Linked DNA regions of Homo sapiens: region 2 is linked to region 1. The links are contacts of gene promoters, found by promoter capture Hi-C in blood cells and fetal thymus (Javierre and others, 2016). All regions are on one chromosome and are shown on one strand. Each heading gives the region's core, a stretch centred on a gene start or on the middle of the fragment in contact. The rest is flanking DNA. Distances are from core to core; before and after follow the strand shown.

The links. Contacts are between HindIII fragments. The CHiCAGO score rates a contact against its expected background, and 5 or more counts as called.
Region 2: a contact is called between a fragment that was not itself captured here and the fragment with the promoter of SUSD1 in region 1, in 1 of 17 cell types (total B cells). The highest score is 5.1, in total B cells.

Annotation. Positions count from the first base shown.
Region 1 is chr9:112,173,003-112,177,576 of GRCh38, reverse strand. It overlaps SUSD1 (sushi domain containing 1), which reads left to right and starts at 2,280. Exons shown (of 17, transcript NM_022486.5): 1 at 2,280-2,444. The coding sequence starts at 2,342. It also overlaps the pseudogene RPL29P20. RefSeq lists a silencer at 2,162-2,821. The HindIII fragment of the contact is 4,774 bases long and covers 1-3,898 here.
Region 2 is chr9:112,813,722-112,818,295 of GRCh38, reverse strand. It overlaps SNX30 (sorting nexin family member 30), which reads right to left. Exons shown (of 9, transcript NM_001012994.2): 3 at 481-591. Among named protein-coding and RNA genes, the nearest start is that of SNX30, 65 kb to the right of the region's middle. RefSeq lists a silencer at 299-348. The HindIII fragment of the contact is 3,254 bases long and covers 987-4,240 here.

The sequences.
Region 1 (4,574 bases), core at 1,031-3,530:
CAGTGGGGATGAAGTGGTATAGGCTGGTTAAAAATCTTAAGTGAATGGTATATTTGTTGAAACAATGACATGATTTCCAAGTTTGAAGTTTATGGAGAGCTGAACTTAAAAAATTTGTCTAAATAATAGAGACACACCGTCCATCTATTGCTCCCCAAACAGGTGCCTGTCTTTGTTGATCAAAAATAATTTTCAAGAAAGCCTGCTAAGAAAAGAGCTTGTGAGGCCAGATGCAGTGGCTCACTCCTGTAATCCCAGCACTTTGGGAGACCAAGGTGGGAGGATTGCTTGAGCCAAGGAGTTGGAGACCAGCCTGGGCAACATAGCCAGATCTTGTCTCTACAAAAAAAATTTTTTAAATGAGCCAGGCATGATGCTGCGCCCCTGTAGTCCCAGCTACTGGGAGGTTGAGGCTAGTGGACTACCTGAGCCCAAGAGGTTGAGGCTGTGGTGAGCTGTGCACTCCAGCTTGGGCAACAGAACAAGACCTTGTCTCCCCAAGAGGAAAAAAGAGCCTAGGAAGATGAGCTTTTTCTTTGTTTGTTTTTGTTTGTTTGTTTTTTTAAGAGAGGGGGTCTCACTGTATTGCCCACATGGGCCTTGAATTCCTGGACTCAAGCAATTCTCCTGCCCTTCAGCCTCTTTAGTAGCTGGGACTACAGGCATGCCACACTTCACCCAGCTTGAAGTTGATTTTTAACTACTTGTTAAGACTCCACAACTTTAGCCCTTATATGGGTGTGTTTGAAAGTGGTGAGATTTACGGCAGGCTCATGGCAGAGAGTAAACAAGTGAGGATATGGGGTGAAGTAGTGGGGTGCCTGCTCTCGGCTGCGCTCCCACAGACATCACAAGCTCAAAGCCTTCAAACCGGATCTTATTTATTTCCTTCTCCCCGACTAGTCATAAAACCTAGTGGATTCCACTCTTACACACTGCCCTCTTCACACTCATTTGTCAATGCCCAGCTGCAGGACACATCTATCTCTATCTCTATCTGTCTGTCTGTCTGTCTGTCTGTCTATCTATCTATCTATCTATCTATCTATCTATCTATCTATCTATCTATCTATCTGTCTATGGAGTCTCACTCTGTCGCCCAGTCCGGAGTGCAGTGGTGCGAGCTCGGCTCACTTCAACCTCCGCCTCCTGGGTTCAAGCAATTCTCTCGCCTCAGCTTTCCGAGTAGCTGGGATTACAGGTGCCTGCCACCGTGCCCACCTAATTTTTTTTTTTTCAGTAGAGACGGGGTTTCACCAAGTTGGCCAGGCTGGTATCGAGCTCCTGACCTCAAGTGATCCACCCGCCTCGACCTCCCAAAGTGTTGGGATTACAGGCGTGAGCCACCGCACCGGGCCAGGACATGTCTTCTATTGCCTGATTCCTGCAGCAACTCCGGGCTGGACTCTTTGCCTTCCACATCCCAACCCAACCCCAATCCCAATTCCACAGAACAGACAGAGATGTGTCAGTGATGAAGTCATTCACTGCTTGAAACTGTGACAGCTTCCCGGCGACCTCCATCACTTGGGTTAGGAGGGCTAACTTCCCTCTGCAGCTCAACGCCCCTCTCCAACCCTCTGCTCTCACTCTAGGTCCCCATTCCCCATTTCTACAACAAACTCCCGCTTAGATTCCTCCCCAACGTCCTTCTCATCCTTGGGTCTTGGTTTACTCCTTCCCTTGGGATGAGTACGGCTGTGATGGAGGTAGGGGCTGGCATCAGCGCGTCCCAAGCCGGGTGTCCTCAGAGCAGCGGGGACTGATGCCAGCCCCTCCCTCCATCACAGCCCTACTCTCTCTCACTCCCGGTGACCAGGTGTCACCTGGTCAAGTGTGTCGCCCCTGGGTGGCCTGGGTCTGCGTCTTCCGACCTCTCATCTGGGCCTTGCGCTGTGGTCACCTCATCCAGCTCCCTTTCACGTCCTGGAAGATTTCCGCCCCTTGCTCCCCTCACCCCTCTCCCCGGGGGTGCCTCCCTGAGCCCTCGAGTGGCTTGAATCCTCCGCAACATTTCCTCCCCAGCACTCTCCGGGGCTCTGCGTCCAGCTGTGTCATTATCCGATGAGTGTCTGTCCCCCTTTGCGAATGTGAGCGGCGAGAGGGCAGCAAGTGCGGAGCCAGAGACGGACGCGGAACGGGCGTGTCCTAAGCCCAGGCCCCGACAAGAGGAAGGACCCGCGCTCTGCGGCCTCCCGGGGACCCCGCAGCGCCCCCCGCTTCCCTCGGCGGCGCCGGAAGCCGCCGGCTGGTCCCCTCCCCGCGGCGCCTGTAGCCTTATCTCTGCACCCTGAGGGCCCCGGGAGGAGGCGCGGGCGCGCCGGGAGGGACCGGCGGCGGCATGGGCCGGGGGCCCTGGGATGCGGGCCCGTCTCGCCGCCTGCTGCCGCTGTTGCTGCTGCTCGGCCTGGCCCGCGGCGCCGCGGGAGCGCCGGGCCCCGACGGTGAGTGCGGGCTGGGACGGGCACGGGCGGCCGGCGGGGCCCCCGGCTGGGCCTCGAGGACTCTGGGCGCACGGACGCTTCCCCGCCCCTGGGCCGGGCCGGCGCGGTGCCGAGGCGTGGGGCGCAGGTGGGGCCCGCGCCGGCCGTTGGAGATCGGCAAGGAGGAGCTCAGAGAAGCGGGGGGCTCCCCGCCGGGCTTCCCTGCCCCCGCCCGACCCCGCGACGCCGGGGGACGCCGGTTTTAAGGCGGCCTGGCCGGGCCCCCAGGGACCTCCACTGCCCAGGAGGCGGGGTGGGGGCTGGGCGCGAGCGCGGACCCGGGCAGGGCGGCGCCCGGGGAAGGGCGGGGAGGCCAGGGCGTTCTGCGGCGCTGTCACGCTTCCGGCTCTGCGGTGGCTTTTGCATGACACATTTTTGACCCGAAGCAATTTTCTTACCACTTTTAATTTTTTCACGTTGTTAGAGAGCCGGATGCTAAATATGGTGAGAAAGACGCGTAAGGAAGAGTACAGGAGTGAAGCCATTAATTCACTCATTCATTCAACAGATGGCCCTTGAACAGCTTCCCTGTGCGCGATGAGGGCGGGCAGTGCGGGCCCTCGTGGAGCTCATTGTCTGGAGGATTTAGACCAGCAAATGTTCTATTTCCAAGCAATCGAGGGAGTTGTTTTTCCTCCTCTGCAAAATGCAGTGTTGAGCTGAGTAGGAATTACACAGAGGATTCAGACACGCAGGGGAGGTGACATTCATCCACATAACTGTAATACAAGGCAGAATGGCATGGGTGCCATGAGAAGGTGTGGGTGGTGAGGGCAGGGAAAGGGGAATCGGTGGTGACCCTTGAGCTGGGCCATCAATGATTGGTCATATTTGGATATGGGAAAATGTGAAAAAGGTATCCCAGCTCATAGCAGAAGGCACTGTCACCTCTCCACAAATGAGTGTAGAATGAATGAATTCCTTCAGAATTCAGGCCCGGGGGAGAAGGGAAGGAAGCACACGGAGGCACCAGAGGCAGAGGGCAGAGTGCCTTGATTGGCAGACCTAGGCCTTTGGACTTAGCTGTGCCTGGAAGCCACTGGAAGCCGTCTCAGGGAGTGACAAGAAAAGTGGGTCTAGCCAGTTCTAGGCGCTTCGGGAGCCACAGGTTACAGTGCAGACATGGCCAAATCCAAGCACCACACCACACACAACCAGTCCCGAAAATGGCACAGAAACGGCATCATGAAACCCGGATCACAAAGATACGAATCTTTTAAAGGGGTGGACCCCAAGTTCCTGACAAACATGCGGTTTGCCAAGAAGCACAATAAGAGGGGCCTAAAGAAGATGCAGGGCGACAGTGCCAAGGCCATGAGTGCACGTGCTGAGGCCTTGCCCTCATAAACCCCAAGGAGGTTAAGCCCAAGATTCCAAAGGGTGTCAGCTCTTGCCTACGTTGCCCACCTCAAGCTTGGGAAACGTGCTCGTGCCCGCATTGCCAAGGGGCTCAGGCTGTGCCAGCCAAAGACCAAGGTCAAGGATCAAACCAAGGCTCAGGCTGCAGCTCCAGCTTCAGTTCCAGCTCAGACTCCCGAAGGAGCTCAGGCCCCTACAAAGCCTTCAGAGTAGAGATCTGTGTCTGCCAACGTGAGGACAGAAGGATTGTCCCCCTTGGACTGCCATCTGCATGGGGCTGATGTCCTCCTTTGCTATTTGTATAAGTAAACTTGAGGCGGGGGAAAGAGGGTCTAAGGAACCCCCATCTTCCTTACTAAAACCAAACGCTGATCCTGAAGTGGAAGGAAATTTCCATGTGATGACATACAAGGAGACTTGTGGTTGAGAATCCTGCCTGCCGCCCCCACCCCCATTCTCTTTGGCTTGGGACTTTTACCATGCCTGATGGGTATTTCAATGGCTTGATCTTCTGGAGTGGCCATTTTTGTAATATTAGGTGCCCTGGTTAAGATTCCTTCCTTGGCTCTATCTCCGAGAACAGTGCGCATAGGACTTGCAGATGCTTGGCGTCTATTTCAGGATCTTCCTGTGATATCTCTAAGGTAGGAAACTGTCCAGTATGATCCCATTGAATTGTTAGACTAAGATGGCTGAACACAGCTAGTAGCTACGTAAGGTCATCTGTAACTA
Region 2 (4,574 bases), core at 1,364-3,863, 640 kb before region 1:
TGGGAGTCGGAGGTTGCAGTGAGCTGCGATCATGCCATTGCGCACCTGCCTGGGCAAGAGAGTGCGACTCTGTCTCAAAAAAAAAAAAAAAAAAAAGATTTAAATTTCTTTTGCTCTGGTTCTGTTTTTTAAAAACTGTGCAGATGGAAGCGCTGGAGTAGATAAATGTCACGTTGCTTCAATAAACAGTGTTAGGTGGTTTCTTGTTTTTTAAATGAAAAACTGTGGCAATGGATTCTGTGCTAGATTTCTGCCGCTGTGGCTAAAGAAAGCCCAGCCAGCCGCAAAACTGGCTTTCTATATACCAAATCAGAAACTAAAACCTAATAGGTGAAGTATTGTATACAGTGTCCGTTAACATGTTTTATATATGTTTGCTGGGTGAGTCTGTATAACTTAAGGGATGAGAGTTGAGTGAACCCCTTCAGGAAAGACAACACAGGACAAGTGAGAAACAAGCTGTAGTGACTTACTACCTACGGGAATGAGATGAGTGGGCTGGGATTCTTCCAGTTTGCTCCTCAACCAGTCAAAATCCTGGTATCTTCGACGAACAGAATATTCTGGCAGGTCAAACTCCACCCGAGTACTCTGCAAAGAAGAGAATGGAAAAAAATAAGCATAAGGGAATAGCATATCTTGGCTGAAGGGAAGGAAAAAAGCTCTTAGAATAACCAAACTAGGCAAGATCATATTTTCCTTCCACCAAACACAACAGCCAAATGGCAGAGTTTACCAACACAGAATAGACCAGTCTGGGACACTTAGCCCAGTTAAAAATTCAACGAGCTGGAATAAAAATGCCAGTTTTCCGAGATTGCACCACTGCACTCCAGCCTGGGTGACAGAGCGAGACTCCGTCTCAAAAAAAAAAAAAAAAAAAAAAAAAAAAAAGCCAGTTTTTTTTTTTTTCCCTACCGTCAGGAAATAGAATTCAACTATCCCCCAGAATTGTTTAGAAACATTTGATTCATTTCCTCCAAGCTTAACTCTAACAATTTCTTTTAGCAGAAAAAATCCACTTAGGATATTGCTACTAAATCCAAATCTGTGAAAAGAAATTGTCTCCACCTTCTGCTAAATATGCTGACAAGTTTTGCCAAAGAGGAAATAAACAAAAAGTAAAGATAATAGATCACTGCTCATTTCGGGGGCAGATTAGATGAAAATAGAAAAGGTTTTGCTTAATTTGCCACATTCTGCCAAACCACAACCCTGGAACTGTTATATTTTAGACAGATAAGAAAAAATCTAGAAATAATACAAAAATGCCATTGCATTGCAGAAAAATATTAATAATCTCATCCCTTTTTCTCAATTTTTAAAGTTTTCTGAAATGTGATTGCAGCACTTTAATAATGAAAATCAATGTTAAATAAAATTGAGTTGATTTTTACCAAAACAAGATTTTTACTCATTTACTGGCACAAATTACACCGTGTCTCACATAAGCCATTTTTCCCTATGAGGATACACACTATATGACTGTCATGGTTCTCAGAAATTAAAGTACAAGATAAAAATGGGTCAAGCTACATCTCATAAATTTACTCTTTCAAGCCAAAAGTCTGTTTTAATTCACAGCACCAAGAAAATCTTTAAGCACATGAACGAGAGTCATTCATCAAAGAAAAAGCTGTGAACAGCTCTAGCATCAAAAATTATGATTTCATCCTCCCCAAAACCTGTGTTCACTGTCTTAGCAAAATGGTGAAGTTCAAGGACTCATTCTTGGACTGACCCCCAACTAACTGCATTGTTTCCCCTCTTCAAGTCCCACACACCAGCATATGCCTATGAAACACGACCTTCCTCTGTGTTTGCAAGGGTGAAGATGTGGGGAAATTCACTCAATGTAGGTATTTGTGACTTATCAGATGATTTTCCCAAAGGAACTAGCATTGTAGGACTGGAGAGAGAGGAAAAAAGACAACACTTAAATCCAGAGAGCAAGTCATTGTTGACAAATTTTCAAGCACAGCATGACAGAAATATTGGGAACAAGTGGCCTGATACTCCCATCCCCACACCACCCGCACAGGCGGAGTAGGAAGGACTCTGCGCCTATGCAGTTCTTGCATCCCTACCAGATCCCTAACATGTCACTAAGCCTCCTTGAGCCCTAGGTTCAACAGTAAGAAGAGAGTTAGGGCAGGGCGTGGTGGCTCATGCCTGTAATCCCAGCCCTTTAAGAGGCCAAGAAGGAAGGATTAGCTTGAGCCCTAGAGTTTGAGACCAGCCTGGGCAACATAGCGAGACCCCATCTCTGCAAAAAAAAGTTTTAAATTAGCCAGGTGTGGTAGTGCATACTTGCAGTCCCTACTACTCAGAGGCTGAGGCAGGAGGATTGTCTGAGCCCAGGAGGTCGAGACGACTGCAGTGAGCTGACTGTGCCACTGCACTTCAGCCTAGGCGACAGAGTGAGACCTTGTCTCAAAAAAACAAAAGCAGGTTGGAAGGGAAGTTCAAGACCTCCCATCTCCCCCCGATAGGCTCCATGTGAGAACTTGCCAATGATTAAGGGCTAATGAAAGACATATTTTGAAAGGTGACAAATTAAAGCAACTGGTTTTCATTGTAAACCAAACTGATGGAAGGCTCTACTTTTTGCCTTCTTAAATGTTACACGATTATTGGCTGGGCGCAGTGGCTCACACCTGTAATCCCAGCACTTTGGGAGGCCGAGGTGGGCTGATCATTTGGGGTCGGTAGTTCAAGATCAGCCTGGCCAACATGGTGAAACCCTGTCTCTATTAAAAATACAAAAATTAGCCAGTTGTGGTGGTGGGTGCCTGTAATCCCAGCTACTCAGGCAGCTGAGGCATAAGAATTGCTTGAACCCCAGAGGGGGAGGCTGCAGTGAGTCAAGACTGCACCACTGCACTCCAGCCTGGGAAACAGAGCAAGAGACCCTGTCTCAAAAAAAAAAAAAAAAAGTTACACTATTAACTGATCATTTCTCTTATGTTTTTCAGATCCATTTCATAAATTACAGTTTATGTAATATTTCTACTCTAATTTGAAATCATTTTTGGTAACTACAAAAGACAGCACAATAGAACACACGTTTTATTTTTGCCACAACCAATTTCACTTTTGGGGAACAGGCTTTTTTTTTTTCCTTCTATTTATTCGGGTTATATACTTATTTTAAAACTTCAAGAAAAATAAATAGAAAATAAAAGATCAGCCATAATCCCTCTAAATACAGAAAAACACAATTAACATGGTTTATATGTTTCCATATTTTTCTACGCATATTCATTCATTTACTCATTGTCTGTATCTCTTTTAGCACATCTTGGACATCTTTCTGCAGCAGTAAGTTCAGATGTACAGTCATTTTAACACATACATAGTATTCCACTGAATGGTTACACGATAATTAAACCAAATCCCCATTTAAGTTGTTTCCAATTTTTCCATCAATAAACAATACTTTTGTAAACACCATTGAGCACCTCGTAATTCCCTTAAAATAAATTCCTAAAGATAGAATTGCTGGACAAAAGTGTACATATACTTTTTAATTGACAAACTGCTTTCAGAAATATAGCAATTTATATTCTTACCACGTATTCTCAGGAACTAGTTATCTTTGGTGGACTGATAAATGAAAAATAATACATCATCTTTGTTTACAGTTGTTTCTTTAATTACTATTGGGGTTGAACATCCTTTCAAATGTTTATTGGCCAAAAGAAGAAAAGTATTTTTCTTCTTTTATCAGGGGTCTTTTTAAAAATTATAAGTCCAGCCAGGCGCAGTGGCTCATGCCTATAATCTTAGCACTTTGGGAGGCCGAGGCAGGCAGATAGCTTGAGTCCAGGAGTTCAAGACCAGCCTGAGCAACATGGCAAAACCCTGTCTCTACAAAAAATGCAAAAATTAGCCGGGCATGGTGGCATGCACCTGTAGTCCCTGCTACTCAGGACGCTGAGGTGGGAGGATCGCTTGAGCCTGGGAGGCAGAGGTTACAGCTAGCCAAGACTGCACCACTGCACTCCAGTGTGAGCCACAGAGTAAGACCTCAACTCAAAAAATAAATAAAAATAAAAATAAAAATTGAGTCAAGTCTTTTTCATTTGTGTAAGTTCTTTATTACCATTTGCCTATCATAATTTCCAAATGGTTTGTCTGATACAGAATCTTTCCATTGTTTTATTGTTGATTTCATCCATATTTGCCCTTTATGCTACTTTTGGGGTCTTCAGTAAGAAGGCCATCCCCACTGCAAGCTTATAAAAATATTCACCTATAGTCTCTATGATTTTCTTTTCTAGTTATGTCTAATCACTGCTTTTCTACTTCTAGGAATCTACCATTGGAAAATAATGTCTAAACTGTGGCAAGGATATTTGCATAATGATCTTCATTGCAATATTATTTAAATCAGCAAGGAATCAAAGCAACCTAAATATTCAATAATTAAAAACTATTAATGAAATTATGGCATATTTATTCTATGGCTGTCAGTAATTTTGTTGGTAAGACTTTTTTTTTTTTTTTAAATTTAGATAAGAGCCAGGAGTGGTGGCTCATGCCTGTAATCCCAACACTTCGGGAGGCCGAGG